3 separate regions of the Homo sapiens genome follow, and regions 1 and 2 are each linked to region 3. Evidence: promoter capture Hi-C in human tissues and cell types (Jung and others, 2019). All regions are on one chromosome and are shown on one strand. Each heading gives the region's core, a stretch centred on a gene start or on the middle of the fragment in contact. The rest is flanking DNA. Distances are from core to core; before and after follow the strand shown.

Region 1 (4,613 bases), core at 1,297-3,796, 240 kb before region 3:
CTGAGGCAGGGAGATCACTTGAGGTCAGGAGTTTGAGATCAGCCTGGACAACTTAGTGAAACCCCATATCTACTAAAAAATACAAAAATTAGCTGGACATGGCGGCACATGCCTGTATCCCAGCTACTGAGGAGTCTGAGGCAGAGAAACTGCTTGAACCCAAGAGGTGGAAGTAGCAGTGGGCCAAGATCACGCCACTGAACTCCAGCCTGGGTGACAGAACGATACCCTGTCTCTAGAAAAAAAAAAAAAAAAAAAGGACACAATGACCAATCTAACGGTGAGGAACACCCCTAGCACCCACCCAGACTGCATCCTTGAAATACCATTACCCGCTAACAGTAACCAGGGCTCCACAGAAAAATGGTGGATTCCAGGTCTGGGGCTGAGAAATGCAATAAGATGAGCCTGGAACGTCTTATGCTAGAAATCAAGGAAACTATCAAAGATTACTAGGGTCACGTCAAAAGTACTCAACAGTCACTGTGAAGGAAATTTATTGGTCAAAGAGGGGACAATTTGAGCATTCAAAAAATTATATATGGCCGGGCGTGGTGGCTCACACCTGTAAAATCCCAGCACTTTGGGAGGCCGAGGCAGGCGGATCATTTGAGGTCAGGAATTTGAGACCAGCTTGGCCAATATGGCAAAACCCCGTCTGTACTAAAAATAATAAAAAATTAGCCGGGTGTGGTGGCAGTCACCTGTAATCCCAGGTACTCGGGAGGCTGAGGCAGGAGAATCACTTGAACCTGGGAGGCTGAGGTTGCAGTGAGCTGAGATCAAGCCACTGCCCTCCAGCCTGGGCAACAGAGTGAGATTCTGTCTCAAAAAAAAAAAGAAAAGGAAAAGATATTTAAGAGACCTATCAACTAAATGTAATGCATGGATCTTGTCTGGCACCTGATTCAAAAATACAAACTGAACAATGATAAGATGAATGGGGAAATTTAAACGGTGATATTTTAAAATTTAAAAATTTAAATTAAAAATGTAAATGGTGATATTTAAACGGTGTGATATTTTAAAATAATTTGATATTTTAAAATAATTTGTTAGGTGTGATGATGGGATGGGGATTTTTTTTAAGTCCTTATCTGTAAGAGCAGCGTCTCACCCCAGGCATTATTAATATTTGAGGCTGGATCATTCTTGGTTGCAGTGGGCTGTCCTGTTGCACTGAAAGATGTCAAGTGGCATCCCTCACCTCTACCCACTAGATGCCAGTAGCACCTCTTTCGTCAGGCCAATTAAAAATATTTCCAAACAGCCAAATATCTTCTGTGATTAAAAAAAAAAAAAACTGTGTTAGAGACATGTACTGCAGTATTTATGGTTGAAATGATACTATACCTGGGTTTTGTCAAAGTAACCCAAGAGGGTTTGGGCAGAGGTACAGGTGAAATAAGCTTAACTGTGTGTTGATAATTGCTGGGCTGCATGATGGACACATGGGTGCTCATTACATTATTCCCCGTTTATATGTTGAAAGTTCCCTGCAATAAAAGTTAAAAAATTATAGTACCAAAGGAGTATTAAAATATTTCTGTTTTCCCAAGCGTATTAACATATTGGATTAAATAAGCTATCTTTAAGTTAAAGAGTTATGAGTATAGGCTGGCGCCGCGGCTCATGCCTGTAATCCCAGCACTTTGGGAGGCCGAGGCGGGCAGATCACGAGGTCAGGAGATAGAGACCATCCTGGCCAACATGGTGAAACACCATCTCTACTAAAAATACAAAAATTAGCTGGGCGTGGTGGCGGGCATCTGTAATCCCAGCAACTCTGGAGGCTGAGGCAGGAGAATGGCTTGAACCCGGGAGGCAGACATTGCAGTGAGCCGAGATCACGCCACTGCACTCCCGCCTGGCGACAGAGCGAGACTCCATCTCAAAAAAAAAAAAAAGAAAAAAAGAGTTATAATTGGGTTACTTTAAAAGTCTTGGTAAATCCCCTTGTCTACTTCCCAAGTCCTGAGAAAGTGAATAATGTTTGCATGCATAATAAATTCTCCAAATTAGGTAATTATCTTTTTTTAACTTTTGCTTTCAACAAAGTTGGAGAACCTATTCATGTTATAACTTATTATAAATCATTGAGTCTTTTGGATTAGTTACTAAGGAGTCCTGAGAAATGTGTGACACTGCTGTAATGAAACACCCCAATGTTTCTCGGAGCTTACAGTTATAAAAATGAAAAATAGAAATAGAATTGGTCATGAGCCCCATCTCATTCTAGCAAGAATATTTGTCTACCATGTTTTTAAACTTTCATTTTAAAAGACTTTCATTTATCTCATCAATAAATGCATTTCATTAGATACCAATGACAAAATAAAAAAATGCATTTCAAATATCTTTTAGAATTGTCAAGATAAAATATTACATTACTGGGCCGGGTGCGGTGGCTCACACCTGTAATCACAGCACTTTGGGAGGCCGAGGTGGGCGGATCACGAGGTCAGGAGTTCGAGACCAGCCTAGCCAAGAGACCAGCCTGGCCAGTACGGTGAAACCTCATCTCTACTAAAAATACAAAAATTAGCCAGGCGTGGTGGAGGGCTCCTGTAATCCCAGCTACTCGGGTGGCTGAGGCAGGACAATTGCTTGAACCTGGGAGGCGGAGGTTGTGGTGAGCCAAGATTGTACTCCAGCCTGGGCGACAGAGCAAGACTCCAACTCAAAAAAAAAAAAAAAAAAAAAATTACTGCAATCAAATATGCACTAATAACTGTAACTATGCAAAATGTTTTTCTAGATTGGGTTAATAGGCTTATGGTCACGAAAACAAATTTTTATTTTTGTTACAGATGACCAAAAATAAGATGTCCTTTAAAATATTTCACTAGGGTAAAATTCTGAAGGAAGCAGAGTAGAGAAAAAAAACGTTAAATTTGTAAAGATTTAAAATTTCCAGGGGCAGGCATAGTGGTTCACACCTGTAATCCCAGCACTTTGGGAGGCCGAGGTGGGCGGATCACTTGAGGTCAGGAGTTTGAGACCTGCCTAACATGGTGAAATTCCGTCTCTACTAAAAACACAAAAAATTAGCCAGGTGTGGTGGCAGCCGCCTGTAGTCCCAGCTACTCAGGAGGCTGAGGCAGGAGAATCGCTTGAACCTGGGAAGTGGAGGTTGCAGTGAGCCGAGAACACGCCACTGCACTCCAGCCTGGGCGACAGAGCAAGACTTCTGTCTCAAACAAAAATAAATAAAATAAAATAAAAAAGAAATAAAAAAGAAATTTCCAACTAAGAGCTTTGTTCATGTACCTTTAAAAATGAATGAAGGTGGGTTCCATTCGATATTTTTATGGTCATTTTTATATTAAAATTCACATGCTAGCAGGTACTCTTGATTTAAACATTAAAAATGTATTTGTCAAACTTAAAATGTGTGAAGGGATGTATACGTTTTCCCAAATTATTTTCAGGGATACACAGGCAAAAGAATGAGCAGCAGGGCTGTGACAACCCCGTCTCCCTCCCCGTTGGTGCAGTGGCACCACCAGCAGCAGCTGGGACTCCATGGCATTCACTCTGCCATTGCTCTGGGTTCCATCTTACTTTCCTACTTTTTTTTCTTTTTGTTTTTTGTGAGACAGGGTGTTGCTGTTACTCAGGATGGAGTGCAGTGGTGCAATCATGGCTTACCACAAGCCTCAACCTCCTAGGCTCAAGCAATCCTTCCGCCTCAGCCTCTTAAGTAGTTGGGACTACAGGTGCGCACCACCACGCGGGCTAATTTTTGTATCTTTGGTAGAAACAGGGTTTCAACATGTTGGCCAGGCTTGTCTCCAACTTCTGATCTCAAGCGATCCACCCGCCTTGGCTTCCCAAAGCGCTGGGATTACAGGTGTGAGCCACCACGTCCAGCCCCTACTCTGATTTTCCCTCTTATTTTTCTTATTTAATGTTGCTATACCTTGATAAGCTTTTTTTTTTTGAGATGGAGTCTCGCTCTGTTGCCCAGGTTGGAGTGCAGTGGCACGATCTCAGCTTACTGCAAGCTCCACCTCCCGGGTTCATGCCATTCTTCTGCCTCAGCCTCCTGAGTAGCTGCGACTACAGGCACCCATTACCAAGCCCAGCTGATTTTTTGCATTTTTAGTAGAGATGGGGTTTCACCGTGTTACCCAGGATGGTCTCGATCTCTTGACCTCGTGATCTCCCTGCCTCGGCCTCCCAAAGTGCTGGGATTACAGGTGTGAGCCACCGTGCCCGGCCGATAAGCACTTTTCTTTTTTTTTTTTTTTTTTGAGACAGAGTCTCGCTCTGTCCCCCAGGCTGGAGTGCAGTGGCATGATCTCGGCTCACTGCAGCCTCTGTCTCCCAGGTTCAAGCGATTCTCCTGCCTCATTCTCCTGAGTAGCTGGGACTACAGGCATGCGCCACCACGCCCAGCTAATTTTTTTTGTAGTTTTTAGTAGAGACAGGGTTTCACCATCTTGGCCAGGATGGTCTCGATCTCCAGACCTTGTGATCCACCCGCCTTGGCCTCCCAAAGTGCTGGGATTACAGGCATGAGCCACTGCACCCAGTCCTGATAAGCACTTTTCTAACTCCCTTGATTTCTTTGCAGGACAATATAGAGCATATTATTAAAATATTTCAGG
Region 2 (4,188 bases), core at 705-3,204, 220 kb before region 3:
TTACTTCAAGAGAAAGTGCTGTGTGTTTGCTGTGCTTGACAACCTTGGGATAGTGGTTCGAATAACTTCTTTCTCCACCTAGTTTGTAGTTTTAGTTTTACCCATAAGAACCATTGCACCATGACTTAAAAGTTTCCAGACACCATTAGGAGAACCAATTCTATCTCTAAGACAGTGCTCTGAAGCACTGAATTCAAAACTAGATGTTAATTTACAAAAATTAAAAGCATTCTCCAATTCTTCTCTGATTACAAGGTAACATGTACTAAATGCATAATCATCATTATTTTTATGTTAACTACTATCTATTTCATAAGTGTTAACTACTATCTATTTCATATGAAAATTCTCTTCAAAGTAAATGGATCATCTTCTGGAATCCTGGGCACATCAAACACGTCTTCTACATATGGCAGTCCGGGGAAAGTGAGAGGTGGTTTTTAATCTTATTTTTCCCCTCAACAATAAAAATACATCCACAGACTCTCTTAAGCACTTGTGCCTTTCCCCTTACCTGAATTTCTGGTAGGACTGGGAAAGATATTCATTAATGATGCTTAAGTGGGCATTATCTCCCAGAAACATCTTATTGGAAGCAGCATGCTGAAGCATTTTTGCAATGGAGCCCAGATTTCGGCGTTGGTCTGTGGTAAGCTGGCCTCCTGCTGACAGGTCAATGATGTCAAAGGCATCAGGAGCAACAATGGCTGGATTCATGTATCGATAATAAAGCAAGTTACCAATAATCTGGAACAGACGAAACAGAAAGATGGGTATTAAAAGACATACCACCAAGGAAGCTATAAATGACTTTGCTAGCAAAGAAAAGCAGAAAATGCAGTCCTATGAGGAAAAAATAAATAAAAAATACATATACACACGCATGCATGCACATATACACACTCTCTCTCATGGCCTGGAACTAAATGAAATATCCCTTTGTTCAATACAGGAAAACAATGAGAACAGAACTGAAAACTACTGCCAGTAGTTAATGAAAGAGCAGATTCAGAAGGTAAAAATGACACACTTAAAGTCTGTTATTAAGTATTTCAGGGCATCTTTTGTTCACATATCATGGTAGCAAATAAGGCTGCTGTCACCCACATGCACTTTGTACTTTCATGTAGATGGGCTTTCCTTATAAAAAGCTAACAAACATAGCTAAATTCCTTAACATGACCCAATCAGCATAGAGTAACCCCACCTCCCAACATTCTCATGCTGCAGACTTCAAAGGCCAAGTTCATGCCTCTGAAATTAAATTCACTTAACACACATCTCTTCCACAGAAGAATTCAGGGGCAGTCACAGCATTTCCCCTAGAGTTTCATTCAGAAGAAATAAAATTAATTCACCTGAACAGAAAGTCTAGAATCGAGGCCTCACTGTAGGAAAGCACAGAACTAGGAGAGAGAAGAAAAAAGCATTCAGATTAAAAAAAAAAAGAAAAGAGAAGAGCATAGCTGAGTAAGAAAGAGTTATCAGCAACAGCCTTAGCAGAAACAACTGTGCCTGCTACTATTCGCCAGGTCACCAGCAGAGGGAACAATACTACAGCGAAAAGATAGGACTCAAAGAAACTCATCTGAAAACAGGAAAAATCCATCTTTCTACTTGTTTGATGTTTGTGTGCCAAACTATAGGAAGTGTTTCATCCTAAGAGAGGTACCATTTACCAATTACAATTGCTTTCAAAAGCTCACAATCAATGGTAAGCTACTGCCAGAACCTACACTTAGGCAGTTAGTAATGATCTATGGTCAGCCCTGGTTTTATTGCTTTGTCCTCAAAGGGCAGGAGTCTGCCGGCTATGAGATTCTTACCTTCAGCAGCTCATCCTCACCAGCATCAGGGAACTTCTCATGCAACGAGTCCTTCAGCACTTTGGCAATGAAGCGCATCCCATAACTGCGGGATGGACAAAACTTAGTGAGAAGGGCCAAGGAGCAGAAAGGCACTTAGTGCTGGGTTCTACTGGGGGTCATGACAACTGATGGCACTCACGGGATTTTGTCCACAGAGCTGACAATGGCTGAGAGAAACTTGTCTGTCACAGCCCGCATGTTCCTGATGGAGCTGTCTAGCCGTGTCTTCACTTCTTCATGAGCTAGCGCCTGCTCAGGGGTCACATCATAGGGCAGTTTGCTGGGAAGACAGAAATTATACCCAACTATGTTAGACTAACAGCCAGGAACAGCCTGAAGCAAGTGTCTTATCTTTCATAAACTATAAGACCCAGAAATATTAGATAGCTTAAGCTCATCCTCACGGGGCTGGTAAGTGATAAGTCTAGAATCTGAACGCAGGTTTTTAACTGTGAATCAGGTGCCTGAATTGTGTGCCAGGCACAATAACAGGCACTTGGGAATAAAAGTTATACAAGACATGACACCTTCTCTTCAGTCTTTTACAGTCTGGTGGGAGCGACACACAAACAGATGATTATAAACCTATTGTGCTGTAAATCAGTTCACCAAAAGTGCCACAGGACCATAGGGAAAGGGCTTCAACTCAGAATGGAAAAAGCAAGGAAAGCTTCCAAAACGAAGGGATGCTTGAACTCAGGAAAAAAGGAGAGGAAGAGTCTTCTAGGAAGGAAGGGGAGACAGGAGAAATGACAGTGGAAAAGCAGACAGGGAGCAGGCCATGACAGACCCCGTATATGATACTGACAAATCTGGACTTTGTTAGAAACCAGAAGGAGGTCTTCAAGGATAGGAGTGCTATGCCAGGCACAGCAGCACATGCTAGCATTCCCAGCTACTAGGAAGGCTGAGGTGGGAGGACTGCTTGAGCAAGACCTTGTCTTAAAAAAAAAAAAAAAAAAAAAAAAAAGAGGCAGAGAGAGCTTTGGTACACACAGAAGGGGAAGAGAAGGCAATGTGACCACAAAGGCAGAGGCTGGAACCACACAGCCACAAGTTGAGGGATGTCAACAGTCACCACAAGCTCTAAGAGTCAAGAAACAGAGTTTCCACTAGAGCCTCTGCAGGGAGCGTGGCTCTTCCAGCACCTCGACTTCATGATAATGGTTTCAAATTTCTGGCCTCCACAATTGTGAGACCATGACTTTCGGTTGTTTTAAGCCACCCAATTTGAGGTGATTTGTTATGGCAGCCTTAGAAAATACAAGTAGAGGCCGGGTGTGGTGGCTCACGCCTGTCATCCTAGCACTTTGGGAGGCCGAGGCGGGTGGATCACCTGAGGTCAGGAGTTTGAGACCAGCCTGGCCAACATGGAGAAACCCCATCTTTACTATAAATACAAAAATTAGCCAGGCGTGTGGCGCATGCCTGTAATCCCAGCTATTCGGGAGGCTGAGGCAGCAGAATCGCTTGAACCAGGGAGGCAGAGGTTGCAGTGAGCTGAGATTACACCATTGCACTCCAGCCTGACCAACAGAACGAGACTCTGTCTCAACCACAACAACAAAAAGAAAAATACAAGTAGATAGGGATACCCCTCTTCATTTGTCATAGCATGGCTAAATTAAAATTGGTAGACTATGAACACAAAAATTCTGCAAAAATCAACAGAAACATTCTATGAGAAATAAATAAATACATGGAACTTAACAATAAAGAATATTGTATATTTTATTATTTATATGAGTTTTAAAAGTAGTAACCAGCAAGGGAATCAATATGCTAAAAAACGTTGGTGATAGAACAGAACATTAACTTTGAGATTTTAGGAAAGAACATTCCCAAGAGGTGACAAGATTCCAGTTTGCTACGTGTATGGTGGCTGAAGTAAAAGAAGAAAGCTAAGGGACCTGTGATGCTTACCTGCAGGACAGATCCCCACCACACCACCATCCCTCACAGTCACTGGTATCTTAAAAAGAGTTCAAATCAATTTCCTTTTTTTTTTTTTTTTTTTTTAAGATATGGGGTCTACATTGCCCAGGCAGTGCTCAAACTCCTGGGCTCAAGCGATCTTCCTGTCTTGGCCTCCTGAGCAACTGGGACTACTGGTGCATGCCACCATGCCTGGCTCAATTTCCATTTTATGAAAGGCAAAATAAGACACCAGTTTCTTATAGGTACCCACAAGAAAACCAATCCTGAAATGTCCAGCGGGCTTTGGATCTGAAAATGACTGACTCATGGACCATCAGAGGAAATAACTGAGAAGCCCGGAGCCAGTGTACATGGGGCTATCGGCAAGGAATGCCCTGGGTTG
Region 3 (4,271 bases), core at 1,541-4,040:
AGAGTAGTGGGCAAAGAGGAAGACCAGGAAGCTGAAAGTTTTTACTTAATGGACTGTTTTTTTTTTTTCCTCTTAAAAGGACATTTATTGACCACAATAAAGGGAGATAAGTAGGAAGGTGGAAGGTTTGAAAAAGCTATTGTTGAAGACAGGAGATAGAGGCCGGCATGGTGGCTCATGCCTGTAATCCCAGCACTTTGGGAGGCCGAGGTGGGTGGATCACCTGAGGTCAGGGGTTTGAGACCAGCCTGGCCAACATGGTGAAACTCTGTCTCTACTAAAAATACAAAAATTAGCCAGGTGTGGTGGTGCACGCCTGTAATCCCAGCTACTTGGGAGGCTGAGGTCCAAGAATCTCTTGAACCTGGAGGCAGAGGCTGCAGTGAGCTGAGATTTCGCCACTGCACTCTGGCCTGGGCGACAGAGTGAGACTGCCTCAAACAAAAAACAAACAAACAAACGAAAAAAAGAGGAGCTAGACCTGACTGAGGACTCAGAAGGTGCTACAGGCTCACAAAATCTTGAGCAGCTCTACAGAATCCCCTTTATTTTAAATTTCAATTCCAGAGTCATTCTGATGGAAATGAAAAATAGTACATAATCTATGTAGGGCTACTTAGCAATATTTATCAAATTGCAAATGCATTTGTCTTTTGACCTGGCAACCTTACTTCTGGGAATGTATATAACAAATATTCCTGGCAGGTATGCAGAATGATACACATACGTAGTTATTCACTGGGGCACTATTAGTGAGCAACAGAAATGGAAACAACCCAACTAAATGCCCACAATAAAAGACAGGTTAAATAATGCATTCTGGCCAGGCATGGTGGCTTACGCCTCTAATCCCAGCACTTTGGGAGGCCGAGATGGGAAGATCAGTTGAGGCCAGAAGTTTGAGACCAGCCTGGTCATCATAGTGAGACCCCCATCTCTGTCAAATAAATAAATAGGAGAAAAAATTGTTTAAATAAAAATTAAAAACCACTGTCATATACTGCCTCATATACTGCCTCAAAAAAATATAATAACACCATCTATAAAAAAAGAATTGAGGGCCAGGCGCAGTGGCTCACTCAGGGCACAGAGCCTAGTTTTTGGTAGAGAAAAACTATTAAAAATAGTACAGCTGCACACAGTGGCTCATGCCTGTAATCCCAACACTTTAGGAGGCTGAGGTGGGATGATCGCTTGAGCCCTGGGAATTGGAGACTAGCATGGGCAACATGATGAGGCTATCTCTACAAAAAATAAACAAAATTAACCAAGCATGGTGGCATGCACCTGTAGTCCCAGCTACTTGGGAGGACGAAGTGGGAGGATGGCTTGGGCCCAGGAGGTAGAGGCTGCAGTGACCGGTGATCACATCATTGTACTCCAGCCTTGGCGACAGAGTGAGACCCCCAACTACCAAAAAAAAAAAAAAAAAGTACCCACAGGAGAGTGGGTGGGACAAATAATTCTCAATGTGTATACCATGTTATACTGTTAGGTTGAGCCATATGTAATACTTTACCTACTCAAAACAAAAAAACTTAAAAACTCTTTTAAGCTTTCCTAAATTATAGATCCTGTCTTCAGAAAAATGCACCTACCTATGGAAGCACCAGCATCCCTGTACCTTAGGTTGGGAACGTCACAACCTACATTCAAGGGTTAAATGTTGTGATGTCTGCGATTTACTATTTAAAAATTTCAGTAAAAATGAACCAACCACGTCATAACGTTAAAAACTATTAAAACCAGGCGGGGCGCAGTGGCTCATGCCTGTAATCCCAGCACTCTGAGAGGCCGAGGCGGGAGAATCACTTGAGGTCTGGAGTTCGAGGCGATAGCGAAACCCCGTCTCTTTAAAAAACAAAACAAAACACTATTAAATCTAGATAATGACAGGGTTAGGGAAGTTCGTTATATTACTCTACTTTTCTGATAATAAATTTCAACGACAAAAAGTAAACGAAAATATAAAAGCAGTATCAAAAAAGCCAAACCCGTTTCTGGGCTCCAGCATCCTTCACTTCTCATCACAGCGGATACAAACAAGGTATCCTGAGTCTCACCGTATCTGCTCCATGGCTTCCCACGTCAGGGTCCTGGGCGGGGCACCAGGCGCCTCCATTTGCCTCCGAATTTTCTGGAATCGGATTGCTTGTTTCTGTCGTTTCAGGGTGCTGGGGGAAGAGAACCAATGGCAGAAGCCATGCGTGGAAGCAGAATGGATGTTTGAAGAGCCTCAGGCTAAATCATGGAGCGCCCAGCCCTCTTCTCTTTGATCGCAAGGGCAACCGGGCCATGTTGCCGGCTTAGAGCTGCTCCGTACACCCAGAAAGCTAACACCTAGAACAATAACTGCCTGTAAGCATGCCGAACTCTCTAAACTGATGATGAAATACGTCACTAATGAAGGGACCAGTGGTCCCAGGGGAGCTGAACACCTGACGCTGCGCCCCTAACAACGGGTAAGAAGAAACAAGGGCCGCTGCGCAAGCAGCGGCAGGACACCCGGCGCCAAGGGGGCGCGGCCTGGAGCGCCGGGGCACGAGGCCCTGCTTCAAGCTGAGGGCCCGGGGAGAAGCCGGTACCTCTCCACCTCCTGCAGCTCCCGTTCCTCCGGCTCCCAGTCGGAATCGGGGTCCGGCTCCCGGCCAATAGGGCCTGGGCCCGCCACCCCCCGGGTCGCGAACCCACAGCGAGTGACGGCGGCGCAAACGCGCCCGCCCAGCAAGAGACTCAGGGTAACCGCCATGTCGACGCAAACCAGCCTTCAGCAGTCGGCTACGAAACAGCAGCGGAAGTAGCCGGGTAAGACCGGAAGTGGAAGGGGCGGGCCGGAGGCTGGGTAGTAGCAAGTTATTTCCCGCTTCACTTGGTGGGGGTAAGATCTGGGCTCACGCTGCTCAGTGGCCCACCCTTTCTGCCTGTAACTGTGGAGAGGGCTTCCCTGAAACGTGAGGGCCGAAATGAGGTACAGGACGCTCCTGGAAAACTGCATAAACTTTAATTAAAGTACGGATTCCGTTTCCAAGAGCCGTCCCTCCGCCCCAGCGGCTGCCCAGGCCTGCCTGTCTCCGCCACCTCGGTGGGCAGGGCTTCCGCTCGGCAGTCTTCTGACGGCGACAGCCCAGTGCCTTGGGCACTCGGCTTCTCTGGGAAAGGGGCTCATTGTCTCCTGGATGGCCTCCAGCCCCGGGCCGCACCTAGGGTTCAGACCCATCACCTAGCGATAAACCCAGGCTAAGGCTTGATGAGCAGAAATGAGTACATGGCTGGCCTTGGCGCCTCTTCATCTTCTAGTCTTTACCGATCCCCAATTAATCTTAGGGTATTGAGGAATTCTTGGTGTCTTTGTATTTTGCCTTATACAAATGGGGTTCCTGGGCAGGGCTTTTCAAAGTGGAACTTGGTGGCAGTCATTCATTTAGCAAAGATTTAATGCCCTTTGGAAACCTGGGGAGGTTATCCAGGAGAGGTAGAGTGCTTCCCTCCTGCTTTTACCTGAACTGATTGATGTTGAGGAGTGCTCTGGAACGCTGCAGCATGGGTGCAGACGCAGGGCAGAGGGGAACCTTGGCTGCTCTGTGTTCAGAGTTTACCATGGAGGGCAAGGTGCATTCAGTCCATGAGTCAGATGCCACTCTTTCCGGTTGCAGAAAATAGCCCTGCTTTGGGGTTAAAGTGGGTGGCACTGATCCTGCCAGGACTCGGTTTATGGCTTCTAGCCTTCTGCTGGCTTGTCCTTCTGCAGTGGAAACATGGATGTCCCTGAGTTGGTATTCACAGAAGAGATTTGTTCACCTCTTTCCCAACTGTGGCCCAATTACCAACACAGAGGAAGGGCATCTCATGCTTCCCTCCACTGTCTTTCCCACACTGTATTGTAATTGGTATGGTATGTCTTTTTGTCCATGTTCCTATTACCTCTTGAGTGCTGGGACTGTATTTCTGCCATTTCTATCACCAGGGTCTAGTGTACAGAAAGGATTAAATAGGCCTGGTGCGGTGGCTTACACCTGTAATCCTAGCACTTTGGGAGACTGATTCAGGTGGATCAGGAGTTCAAGACCAGCCTGGGCTACGTGGCAAAAACAAAATATACAAAAGTTAGCCGAGCATGGTGGTGTGTGCCTATAGTCCCAGCTACTCAGGAGGCTGAGTCAGGAGAATTACTTGAGCCCGTGAGTGGAGTTTGCAGTGAAGTGAGATCAAGCCATTGTACTTCAGCCTTGGCGACAGAGCGTGACCTTGTCTCAAAAAAAAAGGAGTAAATA

The links. The method cuts DNA at HindIII sites, captures the fragments that hold promoters and counts their contacts. A contact is called where the count stands out against the background at its distance.
Region 1: a fragment that was not itself captured here is called in contact with the fragment with the promoter of NGRN in region 3 in 3 of the 25 tissues and cell types used here (IMR-90 fibroblasts, bladder and lymphoblastoid cells).
Region 2: a fragment that was not itself captured here is called in contact with the fragment with the promoter of NGRN in region 3 in 1 of the 25 tissues and cell types used here (hippocampus).

The regions. Positions count from the first base shown.
Region 1 is chr15:90,503,312-90,507,924 of GRCh38, reverse strand. No RefSeq gene overlaps it. Among named protein-coding and RNA genes, the nearest start is that of CRTC3, 24 kb to the left of the region's middle. The HindIII fragment of the contact is 5,406 bases long and covers 1-4,613 here.
Region 2 is chr15:90,479,920-90,484,107 of GRCh38, reverse strand. It overlaps IQGAP1 (IQ motif containing GTPase activating protein 1), which reads right to left. Exons shown (of 38, transcript NM_003870.4): 27 at 2,008-2,148; 28 at 1,827-1,911; 29 at 515-747. Among named protein-coding and RNA genes, the nearest start is that of CRTC3, 48 kb to the left of the region's middle. The HindIII fragment of the contact is 5,949 bases long and covers 1-4,188 here.
Region 3 is chr15:90,264,191-90,268,461 of GRCh38, reverse strand. It overlaps NGRN (neugrin, neurite outgrowth associated), which reads right to left and starts at 2,790. Exons shown (of 3, transcript NM_001033088.3): 1 at 2,586-2,790; 2 at 2,064-2,174. The coding sequence starts at 2,749. TTLL13 (tubulin tyrosine ligase like 13) reads right to left here. Exons shown (of 15, transcript NM_001396017.1): 15 at 2,985-3,742. The coding sequence ends at 3,495. It also overlaps a transcript of CIB1 not described here. RefSeq lists enhancers at 1,836-2,806, 2,600-2,829, 3,190-3,319, 2,807-3,778. The HindIII fragment of the contact is 14,519 bases long and covers 1-4,271 here.